2 separate regions of the Homo sapiens genome follow, and region 2 is linked to region 1. Evidence: promoter capture Hi-C in 16 types of primary human blood cells and fetal thymus (Javierre and others, 2016). All regions are on one chromosome and are shown on one strand. The core of a region is centred on a gene start or on the middle of the fragment in contact, and the rest is flanking DNA. Distances in the headings are between cores, read along the strand shown.

Region 1 (2,745 bases), core at 25-2,524:
CATGCAGCTTCCTACCGGGCCCACGCCATCCTGCACCGCCTGGAGGGCTGCCAGAGGCCAGCGGAGGAGTTGGTTCAGTTCCTTAGGGAAGACACTAGGTGAATCACCAGGATCCAGAAAAGGCAAAAGGGACTCTTCACCCCTTAAATTTCTCCACCCTTAGGTGATGGGTGGTCGACCTTGCCTGGCTGTCCCCAGAGGGTTCCTCCACCCTTCTCACCAGTGTCTGAAATTGTGACCGACTGTGCACAGCAGTTTCGAAAGGGACTCTAAGGTCACATGGGGACACGGCCGTACCACGCTTCTCAAGGCAGTCCCAGGTGCATGGCCACGGAACCCAGCTCTCAGCAGCTGTTAGTTAGGTGAGCGCTGTTCGGGCTGCCTTCCTCCTCCAGTGGGGCAGGATCGAGGCACTGATGGAACCGTCCTGAGGACGCGGGTCTCAGCCGCACACCACCTCTTCGCGAACAAGGGTCCTAAAAATTTTCCTTCTAGGCGGGGAGCACAGCCCGGAAACAGACCCTCGTGAAGTGTTTAGGAAAAAGGGAAGCCACTGAAATCTTGGCCCCGGGGTAGGCCGGGATCGGCTGGCTCCGCGTTAGTTCTAGGCAAACTCCGCCCAAATCTCTGCCCGGGGATTTTTCTGCAGAAGCCGCTCCAAGAGGTAAAGGTCAGTTCCTGCAGCGAAGGCTTCCTGCTTCACCGGCGAAACGGAGCTTTGCTTCGAAGCTAAGCTTTCGGTGAATTTAAAACGTTTGGTGGCAGTGGGTCAAGTAGCCAGGCGGCTGCGCTAGAGTACCCCGAAGGGACATCGGCGACACCACAAACCTCGCGCTGGCGGCTCGCCCGCGCCTTTTTCCCCTCCCGCGCGCGCCCGGCCCCACTCGCACCCCGGGCGGTGCCATCGCGTCCACTTCCCCGGCCGCCCCATTCCAGCTCCGGAGCTCGGCCGCAGAAACGCCCGCTCCAGAAGGCGGCCCCCGCCCCCCGGCCCAAGGACGTGTGTTGGTCCAGCCCCCCGGTTCCCCGAGACCCACGCGGCCGGGCAACCGCTCTGGGTCTCGCGGTCCCTCCCCGCGCCAGGTTCCTGGCCGGGCAGTCCGGGGCCGGCGGGCTCACCTGCGTCGGGAGGAAGCGCGGCGGGGCCGGGGCGGGGGTCTCGGCGTTGGGGTCTCTGCGCTGGGGCTCCTGCGCTCCTAGGCGGGTCCTGGGCCGGGCGCCGCCGAGGGGCTCCGAGTCGGGGAGAGGAGCGCGCGGGCGCTGCGGGGCCGCAACACCTGTCTCCCGCCGTGGCGCCTTTTAACCGCACCCCACACCCCGCCTCTTCCCTCGGAGACTGGGAAAGTTACGGAGGGGGCGGCGCCGCGGGCGGAGCGCGCCCGGCCTCTGGGTCCTCAGAGCTTCCCGGGTCCGCGAACCCCCGACCGCCCCCGAAAGCCCCGAACCCCCCAAGTCCCCTTCGAGGTCCCGATCTCCTAGTTCCTTTGAGCCCCCATGAGTTCCCCAAGTGCCCCCAGCGCCCTGAGTCTCCCCCGGTTACCCCGAGCGCCGCCTCCCCCAGCCCCTTGGCGGCCCGGGTGAAGCGGGGGCGGCTGAGAGTCGGGACCCCCCAGGAAGCGGCGCCCCAGACCCCGGCTCCGGCGCTGTGCCGTGGGCGGGGTTCAGGGATGGCTGTGGTCGTTGTCCTCTGTACTCCGCATAGTGCGAGAGGACTTGGCATTTATGAGCGCTTCTTTAATTTTTTATTGTTAGAGAAACAGGCATTCCTCCAAGGACTGAAGATCTGTTCGAGTCGCGGAGGCTGCGCGGGCCCGCGAGGCTCTCGCAGGGGGACCTAGGCTGGGTGGCGGGGCAGTGCCCTCTGGAATGGGGGTTAACGGTGGCCGAGGAGGGGGCGCCGCTGGTGCCGGCGAAGTCCCCGCTTCTTTCTCCCCTCAAAATCTCACCAATCCGAACGAACGCCTTCTCGAATTTCCGATTTTATTCAATTACTTTCAACAATGTGCCAAGGACTAAGGTTGGGGGCGGTGGGAGAGACAAGCCTCGTTTTTGCCATGGCCGGCAGGGGGGTCCCGCCATCTGCGGAGGGTGCCCCCCGCGGCCCCCGGCCCAGCCAACTTCCTCCTCTTTTCGCAACTGGGGAACTGCAAGGAGGTGACTCCTTTCGGGGTGAGGAGGCCCAGACTTTTCAGAAAGGAAAGAGGGCAGGTAAAACCTGCCAAGCCCCTTCCTGCTCGATGCACACAGCACGAAAGGGGGAAACTGATAGGATTCTGCGGAAGACCGCTGGGGGGCTGGCTCTGCACTGCACACCTGCTGGGGGCTTTCTGGATACCGTGAAACTTTGTCTCAGATTATGAGGTCTCAGTATTTGCATTTGGTTGGGGATTTTGATGTCTTGCGATACAAATGACAGAAGACAGATTTGCACAGCGCAAGCGGATGAGGGACTAAGATGTGCAGAGCAGGCTGGGTGGGGACTCCCGGGGAGGTCTCCCCCAACCCCCGCCCCACCTCGGGCACCCACTTCGCGATTTTTGCAGAGGGGAGCCAGGTCAGAGGTGCAGCCTGGTCCCCTCGCGCTCACGTTTTTACCCAGGTCAGTTCGAAGTTAAGTGGAAATGATGATTAATCCTGACAAGTCAGATCTGGCCTCAGAATGGATTTCCCGTGATTGCCACCATTATTAGCATTGACTTTTCCTTGAAAAATTGGCGCCCCGTGGCCATGGGCCGACCTAGGCAG
Region 2 (2,755 bases), core at 123-2,622, 210 kb after region 1:
GAGAGGAGTGGAAGCTGCATTACAAGAAATTCACTGGGGCTGCACTTGACTCTTCAACTTGGCGAGTCTCATGAGGCACTCGTCCCTCCACTGCCTCCTGGCAGCTAAGTGCTCCGGGTCATCAGGGACCTTCATGCACATGTCCTGCAAGAAGGAGAAGGAAAAAAAAGGACAATAAAGAGGAAATAATTTATCAAGAGTGTAATTATTGCTCTTGTTTATGCAAACTGTGCAGAAACTGCTTTCAAAGACAAAAGCAATAAACCCTCAATGAACAGCAGCTTTCCAAATCTTGAAAGACCTCAGTCCCTCAGAGACAAGTCACAATGAGCTACCAGTTCACTGGTCACCCTGTCCTTAAGGTGTCCTGGTGACACGATGGAAGTATGAACAAAGTTATGAATGAGGAACCACCAAGATCAAGGGTAAAGATTCCAGCTGCAGAGGCAGGCCCACCCGCTGCAGAGGTGAGGGGCAGCAAGTGCTCCAGGTAGCCAACATGCTTCTCTGCAGTGAGTTGCAGAGAAGTTACATACCTGGTTAACCTTCTCAGCAGTGGCCCTGGAAAACTCTGGAATGGGTCCAAAAGTCTGTAGGACATGTTTTATGCCTTCGCTGTATCTGTCGCAGTAGCTTAACATACCTGGAATTGTATGAAGACAAGAATCCACAATCTCAGAAAAAAACATTCTTAGTTATATTCAAACTCAGAAATGCATTCAGAGAGTTTCACCCTGGGGTCAGATAAGCTACACTCTTCCCTCCCTGTGAAGACAAGACAGAGCTGGGGCATGTGTAAGGGCCTGCTGGCACTGGAGAAGCGACCCTCCCCATTACGCACTGTCCACGCTGGCTCCTGGGGGTTCGAATGCCAAAAAGTGCTGGTCCTGGCTGGGCCCGGTAGCTCATGCCTGTAATCCCAGCACTTTGGGAGGCCAAGGCGGGTAGATCACCTGAGGTTGAGAGTTCAAGAGCAGCCTAGCCAACATGGTGAAACCCCGTCTCTACTAAAAATACCAAAAATCAGTCAGGTGGCGTGGCAGGTGCCTGTAATCTCAGCTACTCAGGAGGCTGAGGCAGAAGAATCGCTTGAACCCGGGAGGCAGAGGTTGCAGTGGGCTGAGATCGCGCCACTGTACTCCGGCCTGGGCAACAGAGCGAGACTCCGTCTCAAAAAAAAAAAAAAAGTGCCAGGTCCCTCAGACCTTGCATGCCACCTCTGCTGGTGCATCTCATGGGACCCTCCGGTTGGCCTGCGTTCACACACTGATTTGTTGGCTATCACAGTAAGTCCTAATGTCACCAAGTGTTTCCTCCAACCATGGGTGTACAAGGTTATTTGTGTACAACGTTTGAATGCATTTTCCAAGAATTAAAAATGTCAGATCTCAGGTAAACCTGTCACTTATGTCACTGTTAGACCACAGATCTCAGTTAGCACTGTATTGGGTACGGTCAAGGCTGCAGGTACTTGAAACACCGGTTGGAGAGCTCACGTTGGCTTGTACCTTGCTGGTTTGGGTGGATGGAGCCAGGCGCTCATCTGCACAAGCCCCCATGCACGCTCCCCACGCTCCTGCTGCTCCCCAGCCTTGGAGAGCCATGATTTCTCAGATTCTAAGGAGAGGGCCCTGGGACTTTGGTGAAGAGATGCAGGAAGAGGCTTATCCTGGAGGGAGAGGGAGGGAGCCGCACGGGCTAGGCTGACTGTGCGAGAATGGGGTGCGCCCAGGGGAAAGCGCAGGCCAGTCACGGCCCCCACCCAGCACTGGCCTGCCCCGACCCGCTGGGCCCCGCAGACTTACTCTCCCTCACATTCCTCCCCTCCCTGCTGCCGGGAGGCGAACGGGCTGGTGCCGGCCTGTGCTTAGCAAGTCAAGTCAGAAGCCAGGGCCGGGATCCTGGAAGAGGAGGAGGAGGCGTTTCTAGTCCTGGGCGCCATGGAGGACATAGGCTGGGCTACTGCTGCGACCCTGACTCATTTCCCACATCTTTCAAACCCTTAAAGGCTCAGCAGCTGGTCAGTCCGCCTACAAAGGTAACATGGGGACAAACGAAGCTGCAGAACGTGCAGAGCCTGCCCCAGCTCAGCTTCCCACTCCCCACAAAAACCGTGGATGATTAAGTTAAAATACGAACCATCGGTACTAGATACGCTCAAAAAGCAAAAAATAAACAAACATCATCTTTGGGGTTTAGTTTTGATTGACCTATGCTGATTTGAAAGCCTAAAATCATTGGGTTGCAATTTATTTGCTTCAAATAGTTCTTCTCTCTCAGTGTGTTAAAATTTCCCCCAAAATGGTTTTGAAGGGTAAAAGACTCAAACATACCAACTTTTCTGACATTAGCATCTGAAATTAACGGATGGGTACTCTGTTTATAAAAGAAGGGGTGTCATCTCATTTAACCTAAGTGTTAATTTGGCAGTGCAGAATTCTGGAAGTCTCCTGAGCTTTCCAGCACTGGATACGTACTGTAGATGGCTTAGCATTTCTGGAGAACAGAAAACAACCTACACATTTATTTCATTTGGGAAATTATTTACTTCACTTTTGCTAGTTGCTTATTTATTAAAACTAAAGGAGACAAAATCTAGACACAAATACAGTTTATTCCTTCCTTTTGGGGTGGGGGAGGGCAGAGACACAAGAATCAAGTTGAAAATACATTAAATTAGAAGAAAATGGAAAGAGCTGCTGTGGCTGCATATCCCCCCACTTGCAGGCAGGCAGGCGCCCTCACGAGACCCCTC

What was found. Contacts are between HindIII fragments. The CHiCAGO score rates a contact against its expected background, and 5 or more counts as called.
Region 2: a fragment that was not itself captured here is called in contact with the fragment with the promoter of GJB2 in region 1 in 2 of 17 cell types (M1 macrophages and M0 macrophages); the score reaches 7.5 in M1 macrophages.

The regions. Positions count from the first base shown.
Region 1 is chr13:20,191,664-20,194,408 of GRCh38, forward strand. GJB2 (gap junction protein beta 2) reads right to left here and starts at 1,275. Exons shown (of 2, transcript NM_004004.6): 1 at 1,120-1,275. The HindIII fragment of the contact is 5,188 bases long and covers 733-2,745 here.
Region 2 is chr13:20,404,099-20,406,853 of GRCh38, forward strand. CRYL1 (crystallin lambda 1) reads right to left here. Exons shown (of 8, transcript NM_015974.3): 7 at 537-643; 8 at 1-144. The coding sequence ends at 31. Among named protein-coding and RNA genes, the nearest start is that of MIR4499, 28 kb to the right of the region's middle. RefSeq lists an enhancer at 1,738-2,257. The HindIII fragment of the contact is 6,108 bases long and covers 1-2,755 here.